Regions from separate parts of the Homo sapiens genome. Here regions 1, 2 and 4 are each linked to region 3. The links are contacts of gene promoters, found by promoter capture Hi-C in human tissues and cell types (Jung and others, 2019). All regions are on one chromosome and are shown on one strand. The core of a region is centred on a gene start or on the middle of the fragment in contact, and the rest is flanking DNA. Distances in the headings are between cores, read along the strand shown. Region 1 overlaps LOC105378667 (a long non-coding RNA gene). Region 2 overlaps MACF1 (microtubule actin crosslinking factor 1). Region 3 holds the start of NT5C1A (5'-nucleotidase, cytosolic IA). Region 4 has its middle 22 kb from the start of PABPC4-AS1.

Region 1 (6,951 bases), core at 3,334-5,833, 160 kb before region 3:
CTAATTTCCAGATGCTTTTGTAGATGACTGAAGTATTTGTGAGCCACATATTGGGAGTTCTAGATTTGAGTGAATGGCAGGAAAGGGCCATCTCCATTGAGATGATTAAGTGAACCAAACTAGTTCTCAGAATTCTACAGAGAAGGAGGGAATCAGACTGAGGAAGCTGTGACATAGGACTTGAAGACCAAAGACTTTGAAATTTGCGAGCTGCTCATGTGTGAGTTATTATCACTGCTGTCTTTCTATTGAGTTACAAATCTATATTTTTATTGAAGTTTAAATAAAGAAAAAATTTACAAGAGCCTCTTTGATCCTTAAAAAGATATACAAGTCCATGCCTAGTTTATACACAGTATGCTCTGTTATCAATGTGATAGCTTTTTCTCAAATTTGACACTTTTTGTAGATCATGCTGTCTGTTCATTTATGTAGCGGGTGTTTATTTAACACGTTATAGTCCTTGAAGACATCTAGAGAGGGTCTTTTATTGGAGATCTATTACTTCCAATTGAAGCCCTCTTTCTGGAGTGACCTGAGCTGCCAGCAATGTTAAACAGATACTTATTTATATATAACATCAAATATAGCATTTTTAGGGTATAATTCAGCAGCATTAACTACATTCACAATGTTGTGCAATCGTTGCCACTATTTCCAAAACGTTTTTGTCACTCCAAACAAACTTTGTGCCCTTTAAGCGTTAACTCCCCATTCAAATACATTTTGTTTGTGCAGAATCTACTCTATGAGAGGCCCTGAATTAGGCTAAAGGGAATGCAGAGATGAGATGTGGTTCTTGCCTTCAGGGAGCTTATAAATAATTGCATGTGTACACAAACACCAATCCAGGCAAGACAGTATCAAAGGCCGTAAGAGCTGTGTAGAATTTCAGTTTAGAAGGAAGGGAAGGGATCATGGAAGGAGGAGCATTTCTGCTGCACCTTGAAAAGCAATTCTTGATAAATGTTTTGTTTCCTATGCATATAAGACTTCATAGAGGAGAAGGTAGAGTAAAAAAACTATCTAACTTGATTGACCTTTTTAAACAGTGCTGAATTCCAGAGCCTCACCCACTTTTAACTGATTTGAATCTCAAAAATAAATTTATTCTCTGGGCAAAGAAGTTTATTAACTACTTTAGGACCTAACAAGGTGGGAAGCCACATCTTCCCGGTGGGAGTGGAGATGAGTACTTACTGTGAGCCAAGCAGTGCCAAGTCGTTTTTATATGTTATCTTCTCACACAGCCCTGGGAGGGAGATGCTGTTTCCTTTGCTGTTAACCAGGGAGGAAACTAAGGCTCAGCAATGGAGTACAGCTAGCAAGCGGTAGAGCTGGAATTGAGGTGAGGCTGGTAGACTCAAGCTATTAAGCACTGTGTTAAGCTGGCAGTTTGTAGGGAAGAACCTTTAGTTTCTCTGAAATATTCTTCGTTCAAGTTGCTAAGTATGTTTTAAAGCCTAAAAAGGTTTCAGTAGACAAGCAGGAAAAACTAGTTTTAATAATTGTACGTCAAAAAGCTTTTAATCCTTCCATCTGAAATACCTGGAGCAGTAACTTCTCATTGAACTCATTGTTATCTCTATGGCAATTGGAAATCAGGCCTTTTTTACCAAAAAAAAAGTGTCTAATATTTATGAAGCACTTACTAAGTGTAAGGCAGTGTGGTTGAGCCCACTGTTCATATTCTTAGAAATTGTAAATTCAGCCAAATGAAATTCCTTTATCAGCAGCAAAGAGCCTGGGAAAGGCAGAACACTCACTAGAAATCTGCCTGGTGCTCTGGTCTGAAGCATTGCCCTGAGTAGATTTCCCCTTTTGTGCCTGCTCCCCTATGAATGACTTCGCTGTTGAGTGTAGGGAAGGAAAGTAATTTGTCTTGTGGTGGTCGTAAATGTAGAGATGAAAGAATTCTTTATCTCTTGTATGGATGGGGAAACTGAGGCCTAAAACATGGATGTTCCAGTCACAGAGCAAGGCAAAGCTGGGACAAACCTTAGATCACCTTTCTTACTCTATTACTAAATCTCATACCAAATCTCATTTGAGAGCTGAAAAGTACCATAGAGCTTTGGGCTATTTGCTCAGCCTGGAGTGAGAATGAGGAATGCCATTTTGTACCATCTGGCCATAGCAATCCCAAGGCAAGCAGAGCCCTCCAGTCCAGGTATCCAGAGCCTCCAGTCCATCACACCAGCAGTGCTATCTAAATGGCTTTGGCAATTAATTCCAATACTCAGTGAGCTATTAGGTTCATCTGCTTCTGTCAGTAAAAATCTTGATTAGGCTTTAGATACTTCTCACAGTTCAGGCAGTGCTGTTGTAAGTGGGTAGAAAGTACTTTGATTCTGAAGAGAGATCTAGACTTGAAAATACTTTGCTTGATTCTTAGGGCTAAGCAAGAGAACAGCTCATCTGTATTCCAGGAATATGGCTTGATCCTTCCTAACTCTCAGTAATTTTTTGTCCTCTCTTAGCTCTCTTTAGTTCCAAAGAGGATTTTTTTGCTTAAAACAAAACAAAACACCCAGTATAACATTAAAAAATAACAGTCCGGGAGTGGTGGCTCACGCCTGTAATCCCAACGCTTTGGGTAACTGAGGCAGAAGGATCACTCAAGCCTAGGAGTTTGAGACCAGCCTAGGCAACATGGTGAGACCCAGTCAGCACAAATATATACATACATACATACTTACATATATATATATGTATGCATGCCGGGTATGGTGGGTCATGCCTATAGTCCCAGCTACGTGGAAGGCTCAGGTAGGAGGATGGCTTGGGCCTGGGAGATTGAGGCTTCAGTGAAACATGATCATGCCACTGCATTCCAGCCTGGGTGGCAGAGCAAGACCATGTTGCTCAAAAAGAAAATAAAACTAACAACCCCCTCCCCCAAACACACATGCATGAAATCAACCTTTTATGAATGCAGTGACTTGTCAATATCCCTAGCACCTAGACACAGTCAAATATTTGTTGAATCAATTGCATGAAAGCATAAAAACTAAGTAGGTCTCTACATAAGTGATCTGCTTCAATTGTTAAATACTTTTTAACCAGGATGAAGAAATTTTGGGATAGCCACCAGCAGGAATTTCTGTATTTGATTATCACCTACTTGGGCAGTTAAGGCTGTTTTCTAAAATGATGGCTAACTGGTTATTTGTAAAGCTACTCTGAATGCTTACAAAGGAAGCTGCATGTTTGTATTAGTTCAGGTAAAAGGCTAAGTTGCTATAACAAAGAGACTCAACAATACAGTGGCTTAAAGAACAAAGAAGTTTATTCTTTCTCACGTAACAGCTCTGAAGGGAATTAACCTGTCTGAAGTGAGTGATCCAGGTCATTGGGGCAGCTGTGCACCAAATGGTCATTCAGGGACACAGATTCCTCGTATCATGTTGCTTCTCCATCCTCTGGAGCATTGTCCTCATCTGCTGCATGCTTGAAGCTGGGTCATCACTGGTCCTAGCTGATGGGAAGGGGAAAAGGAACAGGGAGGAGGTAGACCCGCTGCCTCAAGGCCTGGACCCTGCAGTGGCACGGATACTTCTGCCTACATTCTCACTTTCCATTGGCAATGACTTAGCCCGATGGCCACACCTACCTGCCAGGAAGGCTGAGAAACGTAGTCAAGCCATGTGCCAAGAAGGAATGGGAGGACAGGTTTTGGTGGGCAACTTACAGTCACCACTAGATTGGTATCATGGAAGGAGCACTCAATTCCAGGCTCATTTAACTAATTAATTTAACTCAGTTTGCTAGGGGCAAATCTATTTCTCCATCTGTGAAATTAGTGAGTTGTATTGAGCTGACCTCTGAAATATTTCAAAAAGTAAAGCTTGAGAAAATCCTGGCTGGTAGGACTTTAAGATGAGAATAAGAAAGCATTATAGGGAATGGGAGACTGTATAAACATCAGGGCCAGTGGCTCATACTGTAAAGATGGTGGGGAGGAAAGATGGAAGGTGTTTTGGTGGCATTGTTGAATAACTGAACTAATGACTTAACTGCCTACTTTCAGACTTTATGTGGCAGGGAGGGGACAGGGGGAGAAAGAAACCACTATTTGTATTTGCAGCTGAACACTTTACTTTCTAATATACTATCTGTGTGATCTTGGGAATATTGCTTAAAAGCCTGTTTCCTCATGTATAAAATGAAGTTATCTGTATTCCACGGGACATGGTAAGGATTAAGTGAGGTCCTGTTGTAAATAGCATAGTGTTTTGGCACTGTAGTGCCCAGTAAATGGTAAGTACAAATTGGATTTATTTGCTTCATTGGGGAAAAATTGTTAATGCTATTAAAATGTTGGTTTATGATATGGTATCATTTCTTGGAAGTTATCAGGGCAAGCTCTGACTTAAGACTGACTAGTTTGGTGGACTATAGTACTAATGGCCAGAAACGGTGCCTCGGGCTTCAGCTGCCACCCACCTAGGCTTCAGCTGTTAAGTTTTGTTTGTTTCAATGATATGATTTCTTCCATGGGTCAGCTCATTTGCTTGAACTGTTTTCTTCCCTTGAAATGTCCTTTCCCCTGCTCTTTACCTAGTGAACTCCTGCACATCCTTCAAGGCCCAGATCTGATGTCCTCTCCTTAGAAAAAGCTTCTTTGACTCTAGGGAGACTTAATTTCTCCTCCTAGCAGTTAATACGTAATAGTGTTAACATTAGCTGGTGCTTAGGTAGTCCTATGAGCTAGGCACTGCTTTAAGCACTTTTACACATATTAACTCATTTAATCCTCACAAAGCCCTATGAGGTAGTTTTGTCATTGTTCTTGTTGTCTCTGTCTTACAACTGAGGAAACTGAGTAGAGCAGTTAGGTGACTTTCCCAAGGGCAAGCTGGGATTTGAAAATAGGTGGGTGGCTCCAGAGTCTGTTCTGGCTCATTATTTTGCCACAGCTCATAGCACCTGTTATTTATCTCTTGTTCCCACTGGAAAGTAAATTCTGCCAGGATCTGAGTACTATTTTAAGATGATTGTGGAACATATAGTGGGCACCCAATGTATATCGAGGCTAATTTCTGCAAGACACACCTCCCTGTCTAAACGTAGACATGGCTTCTCTGTGTTGAGTGCTTCTGTGTGTCAGGCATTATATCAAGCACATGCATACGTTATAATGATTCCTTAAAACAAACGGACAAGATAATCTGTTATCACCATTTTATAAACACAGCTTAATGAACAGTGGTTGGCACAGAGTAAACATGCAAATATTTGCCGAGTAGCAGAGATAAAGCTTGGTGAGGGCAGCGATGTTTGTCTGTTGTTCACTGCTTTATCCCTGGCATCTACAAGGGCCTGCTGCTTAAAAGCACTTATTTGTGTTTTTGTTTTTTTACTTGAAGTCAGCCTTTTATTTTTATCCAGATTTATTGAGATATAATCGACAGATAAAATTATATATATTTAAACTATATAAAGTGATTTTATATATGTGTATATATGTATGTGTGTATCTATCTATCTATCTATCTATCTATCTGTCTATCCATCTATCTATCTATACCACCATCAAGTTAGTTAACACATCCCATAAACATTTGTTGAGCTAGGATTTGAAGCCAGTTTGGGCTGACTCCAAACTCATACTCTAACCACAACCCTCTACTTCTGCAAGGGCATTTCTTTAGGGTTTTTGAATGTACAAATTTAGGGTTTTTGAATGTACAAATTATTTATATCCCATCTACTTCTAAGAAAGAATCAAAGGAAGAAAAGGTTAAAAAAAAAAAAAAGAAAAGACTGAAGAACTAACTCTTGTACAAAGATGTTTATGGCAAGAATCATGGTTGCAAATGAAACAACTCTAACTTAAGTAAAAAGGTGGATTTATGATTGGGTTAATGAGGTGTCTCATCAAATTCAAGGGCAGGAAAGTATCTAGGCTCCAGCCACAACTTGTACTACCCAATCTGAGGCTTTAGAGACTTTCTCTTTTCTCTGCAAATCAGCTCACTCCTCTCTCACTGTAAACAGGCTTTCTCTACATGGCAGGAGACAGGGCTGCTAGTAGCACCTGTGTTTCACCTCTTATGGCCTTGACAACTGGGGACAGATTGTGCGGATGTTTTCTCTGGTTCTAAGTTCAAAAGCCCTAGGACACCCCGTACCCATTAGAATGGCTGCTATAAAACAAAACAAAACAAATTAACCCAGAAGATAACAAGTGTTGGCAAGAATGTGAAAAAATTGGAACCCTTTGCACTGTTGGTGAGAATGTAAAATAGTACAGCTGCTGTGGAAAATAGTATGGCAGTTCCTCAGAAAATTAAAAAGGGAACCGCCATATGATCCAGCAGTCCCCCCTCTGGGGATATATCCCAAAGACCTGAAAGCAGGGTCTCAGGGAGATACACCCTTGTTCTGCATAGCAGCGTTCTTTACAATAGCCAAGGGGTAGAAGCAGCCCAGTTGTCCATCAAGAGTGAATCTAGGCCGGGTGTGGTGGTGCACACCTGTAATCCCAGCACTTTGGGAGGCTGAGGCGGGTGGATCACCTGGGGTCAGGAGTTCGAGACCAGTCTGGCCAACATAGTGAAACCCTGTCTCTACTAGAAATACAAAAATCAGCTGGGTGTGGCGCAGGCCTGTAATCCCAGCTACTTGGGAGGCTGAGGCAGGAGAATCACTCGAACCCAGGAGGTGGAGGTTGCAATGAACCGAGATCACGCCACTGTGCTCCAGCCTGGGCGACAGAGTGAGACTACATCTCAAAAAAAAAAAAAAAAAAAAAAGTGAATCTAAGGGCTGCACATGGTGGCTTGTGCCTGTTATCCCAGCACTTTGGGAGGCCAAGGCAGGAGGATCGCTTGAGCCCAGGAGTTCAAGACCAGCCTGGGCAACACAGTAAGAGCCCATCTCTACAAAAAATAAACAGATTAGCTGGGTGTGATGGTGTGTGCCTGTAGTCCCAACTACTTAAGAGGC
Region 2 (2,700 bases), core at 201-2,700, 210 kb after region 3:
TTGGCGGTTATAGATTTTTTTTTTTTTTTTTTTTTTTTTTTGAGACAAGGTCTTGCTCTGTCGCCCAGGCTGGAGTGCAGTGGTGCAATCTCGGCTCACTGCAACTTCCGTCTCCCTGGTTCAAGTGATTCTCCTGCCTCAGCTTCCAGAGTAGCTGGGAATACAAGCGCCTGTCACCAGGCCCGGCTAATTTTTTTTGTATTTTTAGTAGAGACGAGGTTTTGCCATGTTGGCCAGGCTGGTCTTGAACTCCTGGCCTCAAGTGATCCACCCATCTTGGCCTCCCAAAGTGCTGGGATTACAGGCGCGAGCCACCACGCCTGGCCAGAAATACTTCTTAAGAGCAAAAAAATTTATGTCTTGATTTTTCCTGAAAAATAATACATATCCACTTATAGACTCCCCTACCCCAAATGCAACGAAAAAAGGTAATATTCCCCATTTCAAATATACCAAAAGGCATAAACATAATATTACAACCACCCACAGTCCTACCACTCAACTCAAGAATATACTCATCCACTCCACAATTATTGGATATTTAGATTATTTCAGAATAGTGACAGTTTGGAATAGCATGAAGTTTTCCTATGTTTAGATTATTGTCTTAGATTCTAAACAAATTGCTATACAAAGGGAAGTGTGACTATTTATAGTAGTCACAGTGATTTACTAAAACACAGACCAAATCATATTGTTTCCCAGCTGAAAACCTCTGGTTAACCACTGTCTTTTTTTTTTTTTTTTTTGAGACAGAGTCTCACTCTGTTGCCCAGGCTAGAGTTCACTGGCACGATTACAGCTTACTGCAGGCCTTGACCTCCCCAGGCTCAGGTGATTCACCTCAGCCTCCCAAGTAGCTAGGACTGCAAGTGTGCCACCATGCCTTTGCCACCTGCCTCCCAAAGTGCTGGAATTACAGGTGTGAGCCAAGCTCCTGGCCAGCTTCAGAAAGACTGTTTAGCTAGAATATCACAGCTTCTACAAAGTGCAAGGAATCCAGGTGTGACCCATGTTTGGAATGATGACTAGACTCACTGGATGCTAAAATGCCATCGATAAACTCCTGACGTGTTATCTTCCCATCCTGGTCCTTATCAATGCGCCGGAAGAAATCCATCACTCGAGACTTTTTGTGATTCATCCAACGCATATACTTTTTCCTCCAGACATCAAAGTCAAAGTTGGCAAATTCTTTCAACTACACAGAAATCAGAAGTGTCAATAAGATTTATTTTTTGGGCCCTCAAAAGCTGCCCAGAGCATACCCAAACTTTCAGACATTCAGTAAAGCCATGCTTCCAGGGGCCATCAACAATGAAATCTATGTGTTTGCTTCTTTTGTGAAGGCACAATCTGGCTCTTTCACTTAAAGCCATGACTATTTACACGAGCTATGGTATAATGGAATAGCAAGAGAAACAATAACTGAATCACCATGGAAAATATGGAGCACACAGAATGAGAATGGGTGAAGCCAGCCTTGCTTTCCCTTTGGGCTTTTCAAAGGATCACTCTCTTAGATGCAAGGAAATGGATTCTAACCCAGAAGGGAGGTCCTTAGCACTCCTCGATTATGTTGTTTTGAAAGGCATTATAATCACACATAGGGCTCATATCAGGAGGCTCGTGTTTACCACTATCTTCTGAGATTTCAATGAGAAAATCTGAGTTCTGGATGGAAGCATTGGGAACCCAATGTTGTATCCAAGCATGTTTCTTTGGAATGGCACCAGAGAGCAAATTGCCCATCTGACCTCCATGTTAAATATTTGGCCTTGATGGAAAACAGCAGGCCTATGCAGTGGGCAAGACAATTTTCAGCTACTTAAGTCTACGTTAATGATATACACTCAAAATGACTTAAAGAGTGCAGCAGTTTCCCCTTGGTCTTTCAAACTCCAAAGTTAGAAGGAATGGGGGAAAAAAGCACCAAGAACCCAATAAGCTTAAAAGTCAACTGACCTAAGGAAAAAATAAACAAAACACAGAACACTCACTTCCAGGCATAGCTGCTTTGATATGCACAAATAAAAAAATACAAAAGATATTAGAGGCTTGTTTTAGAAACTAGGAAGCATAGTACTATATTTTTTATACTGGGTAATGACACTTCAAAATAGAGTTGCTTCTCATGATCAAGTGAAGACTAATAACAAAATCATTAAAAATTACTCCTATTTCATAATTCTGTAGCATCTGTTTTTACATGAAAGGCTCAACAAGGGTCATTTTTGTGCTATGCTACATATCTGGAGATAAATTTCCAAAGTTCTGTTCCTGATTCCCAACCACAGCAAGATGCTGAGGCAGATCAGGTCCTGGCCCTCATTATGGACTGGCTGTTTTCTTGCTTTCCACACCTAGAAGCTTTAGCCTACTCTGTCACAAACGGTTTTCTTACACATGTGTCTTTTCTCATTCAGGGGCCTCAAAGAATGAGTACTGGCTTGGTATAGGTCTGTTTCTATTGTGAAAAAGTAAATTAAGACACAAGGTTCACATTAAGAGAGCCTCAGAAGGGCTGTGTTTTGATTGAAAAAAGCACTTTGTTTCAGGGAAGGCCACTCAGCAGGGCATTACCTCCTCCAGCCGATCCAAGGCATCATTCAGTTTCCTTTGCCGCTCCAGTGCTAACAGCCACACCTGCTGCCAGCGGGCAGAAAGCTGGTTGATCCGTGGGTTTTTTGCTTCAGACTG
Region 3 (6,241 bases), core at 1,339-3,838:
GGCACCATTGTCCTTCCAGATGTGCTTCTTCCATGTTCTTTCACCTGCCAAATGGGTTCCCAGCTCACATTGCCCCAAATTAACAACCTCAGAGAAAAAGAGCCAAATCTCCCAGAAGCCCTAAATAAGAGTGAAGAGTGTCTCAGCTGGGGTCACATGCTCATCCTTGTGTCCAGGGACACAGGGCTCCGCCATTGGTCAGGTCTCAGTTACAGGTCTCTGTACCAGGTCTGGTACTTCTTGACCAGAAAACCAGGGAGGCAGGGCTTTTTATTAGAAAGAGAGGCCGGGAAAAGTGGCCACTCAAGCAAAACCACAATCCACCAAATTTCCTTTTGGGGGCATTTGTTGAAACAATGTGGAGAATCTCATGAAAGTGTAGAGATGGGCACCAGAGCCAGGCCTTAGCTAGAACTTGGGAAACTGTCAGGAGCAGAGGCGGCTCCATCTCAGGGCAGCATGGTTTCTCTCATGTGCTGCTCTCTGCACATCCTTTCCCATCTTGATCTGCTGCTCATCTCATTCTGCTCAGAGAGTCTCCACCTGCGCCGAGCTTTACTTTGCATATAACTGCAGTCTGCTGAGGCTCACCCAGGTCTCTTCGGAGCCAACTGTATTTCACAGCATCCTCAGCTTCTATTCCAATGGTTGACTGCCCAGCCCATTTCCCAATTCCAAATTCCTGAGAAAGACAAATCTGCTTGGCCCAGGTCATCTTTTCAAGCCAATCACACAGATTAAAGGCCGCTGGACAGCATGGGGGTGGCTCACTTTTGTGTGAAGTGCCCACCTCCATCCAAGTAACCACTCTATGTATTCTTCCTGAGTTACTTCATCATTCTTCTCCATGAGGCACCTGAGAATAATTGACCTCATTCCTAGAGTTTCAATTATTTATTGCAGTGTAACAAGCTACCCCAAAACTTGGTGCCTGAAACAACAATTTATTATTTTTGATGATTCTGTGAGTTGGCTGGGCTCAGCTGGAAGGTTTTACTGCTTCAGGTTGTGTTGGCTGGCGTCACCCACATAGCTGCACTCCACTGGGAGCTGAGCTGGGGCTGGGACAGCCAGGATGGCCTCATTCACATGTCTGTCAATTGTGCCTATAGTCACCTGGGCTGTCGCTAGCTTCTTATCCTCCAGGTCCTATCTGTCTCACTACGTGGCCTTTCCAGCAGGATAGTCCAGACTTATTTACATAGTAGCTGGCTCCCAAGAGGGCAAAAATGGAATCTGCAAGGCCTCTTAAGACGTAAGCTTGGAAACCACAGAGCACCACTTCTACTCCATTCAATTGGTCAAAGCAAGTCACAGGGCCAGCTCAGACTGGACTCCACCTCTGAATGGGAGGAATGTCAAAGTCACATTTCCAAAGGACAGGCAGGATGGAAGAGGTTTTTGGGCCATCTCTGGAAACAATCTTCTAGAAGTAAGTCTAAACACACTTCCCCCAATCCTAACATTTTATTATGATTTTTCCCTTCCTCCCACACAAGGGTTGGTTTATTCCTCCCAGGACCTGGTGGAGGCTGAGGGGATCACTCCATTCTGTAGCCCCCTCACCTCCCCAGTCAGAGGCCCTCCTAGCTAAGCCAGTGTTTTCTCCTGCTTCTCCCACCCACCCATGCACACCTCTGAGAGAGGCTGTCTGCTTCCTGGCCTGTACCTTGGGATGGGTGACATTTGTGTCTGCACCCTGAGACTAGTACAGAGCTCTGCATCAAGAGGGACAACACCCTGGAATTCCAGGATGGTAGTTCCGAGGCCCCTCTTCTGCCCTCCCTCTATCCAGCCCCTTCATGGCCTATAACAAATCACCCCAAGCTGGGCAGGTGGGGGCCTAGGAATGCGCGCCCTCTGCTGACCACCAAAGGGCCAGCAAGAATTCGGGTTCAGAGTCCCTGGGAGTCTCTCTGGCCTGGGTCCCCACCCCAGGCCAAGGTCTCGACCTGAGACCACCCGAGCCTGGTCTCAACATGGACTTCAAGGGCCCCTCCTAGGTGGTGTGGAGGAGCTGCCGGGTTGGGCCCTTCACTGAGCTCCCGCTGGGAGCAGGCTTCTGCTAGTGAGAGGAGCCATCCATGCATCACCTCCTGCCCGTCTGCCGGATGGACTGGCCTCGGAGGGAAGGGGACATCGTCAGGATCCCAGGGTCCTAGCTCCTAAAGGAAAGATGGGCAGCTAGCTTTTGGGAGGGGAGCGGCTAGCTTTTCATTTTGTCCTTTGGGGATCACTATCCTGGGGGAAAAAAAAAGTTGTCAGGCCTCTCCTGTCTCCGCGCCCTGCAGCGCCTGCGAAGAACATCATTTTCGCAATCCCCAATCCGCTGCAGCCCACAAACCCAGAGAGCCAGAGAGCCCCCCTCACCACCCAACCGGCTGCTGGCGTGGGTCGGTCGGGGAAGGAGAGCCCAGCTATCCCTCATACCGTACAGCAGTAGCAGCAGCAGCGGCAGCGACACACGGGCGACCGAGAGGGCCAGTGTGACCTCCCCCCGCCCGGCGGGCGGGGAGCCCAGCTCACACGCACAGCCTCCTCGCCGCTGCCCGCCCCCTTCCCTCGCCGGGACTCGCCTCCCTCCTGCAGCCCAGCCCCAGCCACCTCCGCGTCTACGCCGCCGCCTGCTCTGGCCGGGCCGGGTCAGAGCCGGAGCATGGAACCTGGGCAGCCCCGGGAGCCCCAGGAGCCCCGCGAGCCCGGGCCAGGAGCGGAGACCGCTGCGGCCCCGGTCTGGGAGGAAGCCAAGATTTTCTACGACAACCTCGCGCCCAAGAAGAAACCCAAATCGGTAAAAGCAATGCACGGGTATGCGGGGGACGGGGGAAGGGTTACCCCGGAGGAGGGGTCATAAGTCTCTTGGGAAGGGACCCGTGGCGCCCCTCTGGGAGGGGACGCAGCTCCTCAGCCCCAGAATGCGCCCTGCAGCTGGCGCGGGCTCGGGTTTATTTTGGGAGCTCTGCTCTGGTGTATTTTTTTACCGGGACTCGGGTTCCACGCCAGGCTCCCCCTCCCCCATGCTGTCATCAGGGCCCAGCTAGAGGCCCGCAGCCCCAGCCCCTCCCCACTCGGGCCGCCGGGGAGCGCGGATTGCACTTGTTGGCGAAGCTGGTCCGCAGCGCTTCCAGAAGCGCCCCAGGCGCGGGTAACCAGACTTTGGGAACCCGGTTCCTGGCTGTGCGCTCCGGTCTCCGCCATCTGGGCATCGGGCTCCGGACCTGAGACTCTGCGTTTGGGGTCTGGCTCTGGGTCCTGGGCCCTGGGCTGGGGGCAGTGCGCTCCCCGCGTCCTAAGGAAAGGGAGCTGCTCTCTCCAGGCACTGGGATCCACACTCTGCGCTGGGGGGCGATCGGCGCCCCTGGCCGCAGGCTCCCAGCGCTGGACTCTGCCCCCCAGCTCGGGTTCTGCTCCCCTTGCAGTGGGCATTAACATCCCCACGACCCTGTGGTGGTGTCAACCGTCTGGGACCTCACAGAGGAGCTCTCTCCTCTCTGCCATCAAACAAGTTGATGATGCCCTGGTCTGCCCCTGGACCTTGCTGTCTCCAACTTCCCAGATCTCAGAGCTTGAGGAGAAAACCGAGAATAGAGGTTGGCCCACAGCGGTCCTCCAAAGAGCTCCAGCTTGATCTTAAAGCAATTTGCTGCTTCCCTCCAAGAACCCTTCCCCAACAGGTCCACCCTATCAGCAATCATTCAATTAGCACCTCCAAGCTCTGCTCAAGAGTGGGGATTGAAGAATTAAATAACCTGAGTCCCTGCCTCAGGAGCTCACTGCACAATGATGGAGGCTCCAGAGATGAGAGCCTAGGGGAGTTGGGGGGGGAGTAGAGTAGTGACATCACACTGGGGAAAGCTTTGTAGAAGTGGCACGTATCCTGATCTTAAAGCCTGAGTAGGTGGAGTTTCCCAGGGAGAGGGAAACAGGACAGGCAAAAGTCATGCAGATGTCTCTGAAGCTCAGGACTGTGTTCCTGAATAAGTACTGAATGAAGAATGCAGGATTGTTGGAAGAAGAGCTGGAGGGATGTGGAAGAGCCCACAGAGGGCCTTGGGGATCATGTTAAGGAGTCTGGACCTTACTCAAGGGGGTCAGGGATTTCCAAACTAGCTTCCCCAAGCCCCATGTTTCAGGGAGTCTGCACACATGTGAATCCAATTTATTTTCTTTCTTCTTCGGACTATGTTTTAAACAATTAAAAATGTGTAATAAAACCCAACTCACTCTAATGTATTAGGTGGACATTTTAGCAGCTTGAAGGCCACTAGCTTGTGCTGCAGATTTTTTTAAAGCAAAGCTCAGAATAAGGCTTCCCCTGTGATCTGTTCCATCAAAGAGCGTCTTGAGATTGTAAGGCCTTTAGTTTAAAACAAACCAAAACAAAAAACCTTTTAGCATTTCCAACCACTTATTGGTCTGAATCAGGACTTTCTCAATACTGTACAAATACAAACACAGCAACAACTTGGCCGGATGCTGAAGCTTAAGTCTGCACTGGCATTCTAGCCGCTAGTTTCAAATTTGTTGTCATGCAAACAACTGTGTTGTTTTCATTGGTTGACTTTATAATAAATAAATAAATAAATGTAATGCATTTGAATCTGTAAAATAAATAAACACCAATTATATATGTTATATCTGGTACCATATGGTATGAGATATATGGTAATATCTGGCTTACATATTGAATTCAAAGTTTATTTGAATTCATTTAAATAAAAGGTCAACCTACATTTAAACAAACATATGAATACCATTATGGAGCTATTACAGGATTTTTCATCAGGGGATTAACTGGGTCCCATTTTTATTTTAGAAAGATCACTCTGGGATGGATTGGAAAGGGTGAGTCCGGCAGCAAACCCACCAGTGAGAAGGCTGGTGCCTCTCTGAAGAGGAAGCTGGATGAATGTCAATGCTGTGGCCTGAGTGATGCAGAAGAAGGGATGGAGACTGGGGACTGGGGCAGTGAAAGCATCAGTGCTCAAAATCCATTTCCTCCCCAGGCACCAAGGAACCGGAGAGCTCAGGCCCAGTTGTCAGTCATGACCCCTGGATCAGCCCCTGACTCTCATGGTTCTCTGGGAGGCAAGAAGCCTGGAGGCTTCCCAGCTCCTATTCCTTCCTGCAGAAGCCCCTCTTCCCACAGGCTATTTTGGGGGCTCTAGGCCTCATGGGCCCCATCATGGCCTGGCCTGGGCTAATTCTCATTCCCAGGGGCCTGAGTAAAATATTTAACGCCTGAAGGCCTGTTGGAGGCCCTCACCTCATGGGGTCAGAACACTTCTTCAATCCAAAACTCTCCTGTCCCTCTCTCTTTCAGCAGCCCTTCCCTCTCTAAGTCCTACTGGGAATAACAGCTTTTTGCCTATGTTTCTATCTTGGACCCAATAGGCAGAATTACGTTAGCCTAAATGGGAGCTCCTCAGGAAGTCCAGGTGGGGGTGGGCTGCACTCTGTTATTCTTCCATTCCCATCCCCTAGCCGGAGCCATCAGCCTGACCCTGAAAGGCAGAGAGAGCTGCCAGCACCCTGGTTTCCTGGAGCTCAGAGCTCCCAGAGTGAGCCCTTGAGTCACTCTGACCCAATTCCCAGTCTGAGATCAGGGCTTCTTTCTGCTCTCTGGAGGAACTGTTCCTAGATGCCCCTGCCAACACATGGCCACCTCTGCGGCCAGGCCCAGGAGGGTCTCTATGTCCACAACTTGTCCCTATCTCTGGCCAGCCCATTTCACCTGCTCCTTCAGCTCCACCTGGAGCCTGGACAGGTCATTCATCAGTCCCAGCTGGGATCCATATTTCTTACACAGCCATGGCCTCTGGGATCTTAGACTCCACCTCACTCATACTGTGTCACAGCAGTCTAAGTGGGGATGCACAGTCCTGCCCTTGGGACCCCCATTCTGCTGGGAAACAGAGACCTGCCGTTAGAAACCTCAGTTTGTGGGCACGCCCTGATCATTTCTCCCAAATCTGGAAAGTGAAGGCTGGGGGAGATGTTTCCAGGGAAGGCGGAAGTAGCAAGGGATAGAATCTTCTGGGAACTGTTGAGGAGAGGAATAGCAAGGGGACTGCAGTGTGGATAGAGGCCAGGCTAGAGGCCGGAGACTTGAGATGTCATCTTGCTCTGCCTTGACCTAGAGTAACAGGCCCCTTTCTGGGCCTGTTTCCCCATCTGGAAAAGAGAGAAGCAGAGGACTCTTGGGGCCAATGCAACCAGGACGTTTTTCTTGCAACAACCA
Region 4 (6,216 bases), core at 1,896-4,395, 130 kb after region 3:
GCACTTGCTCCAGCCTACTCACTGGAGTTGTGTTCTGGGTGGGTGTGTAGAATACTCGCACTCCTACTTGGGGCATCAGGGAGCTCTCTAGCAATTTCTTCTGCACCTAGGGAGAGCCCACTGCTAAAAAAGGCCTAGTCAAATCCTCAGGTGTACATGGACATCAAGATTGGGAACAAGCCGGCTGGCTGCATCCAAACCCTCCTGCGTTCCGACGTCGTGCCCATGACCACAGGTGAGCGGGACACCATGGTCAGGACGGTGGGACACTGGTGGCTGAACAAGATGGGGAGGAAGCTACCTGGGGTCCTGGGCCCTTAACACTATTTCCATCTGAGGCGTCTCAGATCCCAGCATCTAGTAACAAATGAGGCACAGCAGGCATTTTTGAAGCTCTATAAAGGCTTAGAGCCATTAGAAAGGGTAGGCAACTAAAAGTTCTAAACAGTTTTAATTATCCTCTGGTTTGGTTTTATTGTTGGGTTTTTTTTTTTTTGTAATTTTATTTGGATATATTTTCAAACTTACAGATATATAGAATAAGAATTCTGTAAGAATATTTCAAGGGGCCAGGTGCAGTGGTTCACACCTGTAATCTCAGCACTTTGGGAGGCCATGGTGGGAGGATCACTTGAGTCCAGCAGTTTGAGATCAGCCTGGGCAACACAGCAAAAGACTCCATCTCTACAAAAAATACAAAGTTAGACGGGTATAGTGCGATGTGCCTATAGTTCCAGCTATTTGGGAGGCTGAGACAAGAGGATTGCTTGAGCCCAGGAGGTTGAGGCTGCAGTGAGCCATAATTGCACCACCACACTCCAGTCTGGGCAATAGAGCAAGGCCTTGTCTTAAAAAAAAAGAAAAAGAAAAAAGAAAAAAAGCAGTTAGGGGAACTCTCATATATCCTTTACCTACTCATTAATTTCCTTTTTTTGCCCTGTATGCTTTATCATTTTCTTTACATACATTACACACAGATGCGTATATGTATTTTTCCCCTGTTCCAGTCGAGAAGTTGAAGACCATGCACCTTTACTGCCAAATACTTCAGTATATATTTCCTAAGAACCAGAATATTCCCTTGCCTAATCAGAGTACAACTATCAAAATTATAAAATGTAACATTGAGTGATGAGCTATATTCAAATTTTATCACTTGTCCCAATATTGTCCTTTTTAGTAATTTTTAGCAATTTTTCTTCCCTGACAAGGATTCCCATGTTGATTTAGTTGTCAAGTCTCTTTAGTCTCCTTTTATTTGAAACCGTTTCTTAATTTTTCATTGTCTTTTTTGATCTTGACATCTTTGAAGAGAATAGGCCAGTTGTGTTTAAGGGTGCTCCTCAGTTTGTATTTGCCTAGTACTTCCTCATGATTAGATTGAGGTTATGTGTTTTGGCATCAATAGCACAGAAGCAGTGTGTTAGTGCATCGTTTGAGGAAGTACATGATGTTATTTCAGATATTTGCAATGTTAATTTTGTTGACTTGGTTAAGGAGTTATTTGCCAAGTGTCTTCACTGGAAAAAATGCTATTTTTTTTTTCTTTGAGACAGGATCTAGTTCTGTTGCCCAGGCTGGAGTGCGGTGATGTGATCACGGCTTACTGCAGCTTCAACCTTCCAGGCTCAAGTGATCCTCCCAGCTCAGCTTCCCAAGTAGCTGGGACCACAGGCATGCACCACCATGCCCAGCCAATTTTTTATTGTTTTTTGTACAGATGGAGGTTTCACTATGTTTCCCAGCTAATTTTTTTTTTTTTTTTTTTGAGACGGAGTCTTGCTCTGTTGCCCAGGCTGGAGTGCAGGGGCGCAATCTTGGCTCACTGCAAGCTCCGCCTCCCAGGTTTACGCCATTCTCCTGCCTCAGCCTCCCAATTAGCTGAGACTACAGGTGCCCACCACCACGCCCAGCTAATTTTTTTGTATTTTTAATAGAGACGGGGTTTCACCATGTTAGCCAGGATGGTCTCGATCTCCTGACCTTGTGATCTGCCCGTCTCGGCCTCCCAAAGTGCTGGGATTACAGGCATGAGCCACCGCACCCAGCCCTTTTGTATTTTTTTTTGTAGAGATGGTGGGTTTTGCCATGTTGTCCAGTCTGGTCTTGAACTGGACTCAAGTGATCCTCTTACCTCGGCCTCCCAAAATGCTGGGATTACAGACATGAGCGGCCGCACCCAGCCAGAAAAGTACTATTTTTAAGGGTATCAATCAGAAACTAAAACTTTCTCTCCTTACTATTCAGCCCATCTCCCAGAGGTAGCTACAATTGACAGTTGTGTTTTCCTTTTTTTCTTAAGTATTCATGATGACCTTTTTTTACCCATAATCTTTTTTGTCTTAATCTAGCTTTTAAAAATGTTTCTTAAAGTCATAATTGCACATAGTTTAAAGAAAATCGTTCTATAATAAAACATTCTTCTGCTCCCCCAACATAATTTTTCTGCCCTGCCAGAGGCAACATTCATTTCTTTTAACTATTTTAATTATTTGGGCTTTTATTGCTATGTCTCTGAAAAATATACTCATATTACTATTAGTAATCCCAGACTGGAGTACAATGGCATGATCTTGGCTCACTGCAACCTCCGCCTCCCGGGTTCAAGTGATTCTCCTGCTTCAGCCTCCCGAGTAGCTGGGATTACAGGCGCCCACCACCATGCCCAGCTGGTTTTTATATTTTTAGTAGAGACAGGGCTTCACCATGTTGGCCAGGCTGGTCTTGAACTCCTGACCTCAGGTGATCCACCCACCTCTGCCTCCCAAAGCGCTGAGATTACAGGTGTGAGCCACGGCGCCTGGCCTCCCTCCTCTGCTATCCATTTTAGATACCTCTCATCCTCACCTCAGCTGGTTCCTCTGCTAATCTAAATGGCTTATCAGGTGGGGTGACCTAGACCTTTGTCTGTGGGGATTTGAGCTCCTGGTCATTATATACCTTCTCAGGTCATCGCTGCCTAGCATAATTGGGTGGGGGAGTCCAAATGTTTATTCAGTTGTCCTAAGACCAGTTTATAGAAAGTCCATCTTTGACCCAGTGATTTAAGATGCCAAGCTTTATGAAATATTTAATTCCTTTATATATATATATATATATACACACGCACACACACACACACACACATATATATGCATATATACACACACATATACATACATACACATATATATACATTTTTGTATATGTGTGTGTGTGTGTGTGTGTATATATATATATATTTTTTTTTTTTTTGAGACGGAATTTCACTCTTGTTGCCCAGGCTGGAGTAAAATGGCATGATCTCAGCTTACTGCAACCTTTGCCTCCCGGGTTCAAGTGATTCTCCTGCTTCAGCCTCCCGAGTAGCTGGGATTACAGGCACATGCCACCATGCCGAGCTAATTTTCTGTATTTTTATTAGAGATAGGGTTTTACCACATTGGTCAGGCTGGTCTTGAACTCCTGACCTCAGGTGATCCACCCACCTCGGCCTCCCAAAGTGCTGGGATTACAGACCCGAGCCACCGCACCTGGCCTATGTATATATTTTAATAGAGATGAGGTCTTGCCGTGTTGCCCAGGCTGGTCTCCAACTCCTCTGCTCAGGCAATCCTCCTGCCTTGGCCTCCCCAAGTACTGAGATTACAGATGTGAGCCACCATGCCTAGCTGAAATACTGAATTTTCATACGTTTCTGGGTCTATTCGGGACTTTCTCTTCTTTTCACCTAGTCTGTTCTATCTATTTGTGTGCCACTTCCACACTTAAGCATTTAGTTTAAATAAAGGTACTATGTACTTTTTTAGATTTGGAGAGCTGGAGTTTGGGGGTGTGTGTGTATTTTATTTCAGAGACAGGGTCTCACTTTGTCACCTAGGAGTGTGCCACCATGCCTAGCTAGTTTCTGTATTTTTAGTAGAGATGGGGTTTTGCCATGTTGGCCAGGCTGGTCTCGAACTCCTGACCTCAGGTGATCCACCCACCTTGGCCTCCCAAAGTGCTGGGATTACAGGCATGAGCCACCGTGGCTGGGACCCAAATGATTATTTTTATTTTTGTAGAGATGGCATGTTACAGAGAGCTGGAGTTTTAATTATCTAGTTAGATATTCTTACCTCAGCACTTTTCTCTTTCTCAATCCCAGAGAATTTTCTCTACATGTGCACCCATTTAAAGGACTCGGCTTCAAGGGAAGCAGCTTCCACCGCATTATCCCCCAGTTCATTTGCCAGGGCAGTGATTTCACAAACCACGGTGGCACCAGGGGTAAGTCCATCTACAAGAAGAAATTTGATGATGAAAACTTTATCTTCAAACACACAGGACCAGGTAGGAACCACTCATCGTGTGGTGACAAGGGAGGCTGGGCGAGGGCAGCTGGCCGTGCAGGGTGGAAGGATGAGCCGTGGTTCTGGCTGAGAAACAGGGAATCTGGAGGAGACCCAGCTACCAGACACAGGAGAACCGTTCAGCCTTGCTAGGGTGGAGTTAGCTTTGGGCTTTGAAAAGCTTTTCTGTTTTTTATTTTGGGTTATTTCAGTTCCCATTTGTCTCCTTTCATTAAAAGAGGAAGAAGCATAGACGCCTGGGTCTGCTCCTACAGGGGTGTCTTGTTATTGTTTTTGTAACTTTTTATTTTATGTAATGTCAAGCTCACGGAAGAGTTACAAGAATAGTGCGATGAACCCCATACACCTTTGCTGGCATTTACTCAAGTTCACCAGTTGTTTATATTGGTGAACATCATTTCCTATTTATTCTCCTTCTGTGTATTTTTATAGACAGTGCGTATTTTTTTAGAGCCATTTGAAAGTAAGTTGGAGAGTTCATGTTCCTCTACCACTAAATACTTCAGCATGTATTTCATAAGAAACAGGGTATTTTTAATGTTACCAGGACATAGTTCTCAAAATCAGAAAACAAACACTGCTACAATACTATTCTCTCAACTGCAGTGCATATTCAGATTTCCTCATGTGACAGCACGTCATCCTTTTGGGGCTTTTCATGGTTGGCACGTGTCCTAGACTCATAGATGCGCTGCCCATCCACCCACACCACACTGCCCTGTTGCCTCACTCACATCTCACGCGCCGTCGCTGCATGCACTCTCCTTCCTCTTGCCAAGGATCCCGCTGCCTCTCTCGTGCTCCTTCTTACGTAGTGCAGAACTCTGTGTGCTAGAGAAAAGCACAGCCCTGAGCTATCTGGTCCCTCTTGAGTTGAGGAGCTCAGGTCTTAAGGGCACCTTGAGCAATGCCCAGTGGTCCTCCCAGATTGCTGGAGGTACTTGTCATCCATCGTCTGACTGGAAAACACGCCTTTTCTTCACTCCTCAGCCCTCCAGCATTGCTTCATACACTCTCCCTCTCAGCTGATGGTGTCGCTTATTTATAGAAACAATCAGAAGAGAACTATTTAGTCTTCCTGCAGCCAGATCTACTCCCCTGCCTGCATCATTCTCTCCTGCCTGGCCTGCTTGCCTTCCTGTGACAATGGTGGCCTCCCTCTTCTCCTACCTTTTGCCCCATGGTGTCTTCCCTCAGTCTCTTCCCTTGTCTCTTCCTCCTCCTAGTCTCTAAATTTTTGGAGGGACCCAGTGCTCACCATGGCTTTTCTGTATCTGTATTCACTCTTTACCTCAATAGTTCTCACCCTTTTACCCTAGCACCTGCCTCTTACAGCTCATGCTCTAGTGTGCTGAGATGGAAGTCACAGCTCTGCACCCTTCCAGTGAATGCCTAATTAAAAACACGGTATTGGCTGGGTGCAGTGGCTCACGCCTATAATCCCAGCACTTTGGGAGGCCGAGGTGGGAGGATTGCTTGAGCCCAGGAGTTTGAGACCAGCCTGGGCAACATGGCAAGACCCCATCTCTACAAAAAATACAAAAACCAGCCAGGCATCTTGGTGAACACCTATAGTCCCAGCTTCTCAGGAGGCTGAGGTAGGAGGATGGCTTGAGCTGGGGAGGCAGAGGTTGCAATGAGCCAAGATTGCACCATTTGGACTCCAGCCTGGGTGACAGAGTGAGACTCTGTCTCAAACGAAAAACCCCACAGTATTATTTCATAGTTGTAATATAAAGGGAAATTAAAGGAAAACAATTTGTAATAACATAATATGCATTTCAGTATTCAAATGCTTGGAAGCAACTACATGTATGAAGTACTTGAACATGTGTACTTCTGCCTAGAGCTGCACTTAGTAGTGTGGACTGATTCAGGTGTGTTG

Evidence for each region. Contacts are between HindIII fragments. The study calls those that stand out against the background at their distance.
Region 1: a fragment that was not itself captured here is called in contact with the fragment with the promoter of NT5C1A in region 3 in 1 of the 25 tissues and cell types used here (mesenchymal stem cells).
Region 2: a contact is called between a fragment that was not itself captured here and the fragment with the promoter of NT5C1A in region 3, in 4 of the 25 tissues and cell types used here (dorsolateral prefrontal cortex, hippocampus, mesenchymal stem cells and 1 more).
Region 4: a fragment that was not itself captured here is called in contact with the fragment with the promoter of NT5C1A in region 3 in 1 of the 25 tissues and cell types used here (dorsolateral prefrontal cortex).

Annotation. Positions count from the first base shown.
Region 1 is chr1:39,834,404-39,841,354 of GRCh38, reverse strand. It overlaps LOC105378667 (a long non-coding RNA gene), which reads right to left. Exons shown (of 4, transcript XR_947221.3): 4 at 3,400-3,478. It overlaps TRIT1 (tRNA isopentenyltransferase 1), which reads left to right. Exons shown (of 11, transcript NM_017646.6): 11 at 1-3,245. Among named protein-coding and RNA genes, the nearest start is that of LINC02811, 20 kb to the right of the region's middle. RefSeq lists a silencer at 4,252-4,452. The HindIII fragment of the contact is 3,796 bases long and covers 2,686-6,481 here.
Region 2 is chr1:39,459,133-39,461,832 of GRCh38, reverse strand. MACF1 (microtubule actin crosslinking factor 1) reads right to left here. Exons shown (of 101, transcript NM_001394062.1): 91 at 2,584-2,700; 92 at 1,039-1,201. Among named protein-coding and RNA genes, the nearest start is that of BMP8A, 31 kb to the left of the region's middle. The HindIII fragment of the contact is 6,947 bases long and covers 1-2,700 here.
Region 3 is chr1:39,668,454-39,674,694 of GRCh38, reverse strand. NT5C1A (5'-nucleotidase, cytosolic IA) reads left to right here and starts at 2,588. Exons shown (of 6, transcript NM_032526.3): 1 at 2,588-2,791. The coding sequence starts at 2,657. RefSeq lists a silencer at 2,396-2,805. The HindIII fragment of the contact is 3,595 bases long and covers 575-4,169 here.
Region 4 is chr1:39,539,752-39,545,967 of GRCh38, reverse strand. It overlaps the pseudogene PPIEL. Among named protein-coding and RNA genes, the nearest start is that of PABPC4-AS1, 22 kb to the left of the region's middle. The HindIII fragment of the contact is 4,869 bases long and covers 711-5,579 here.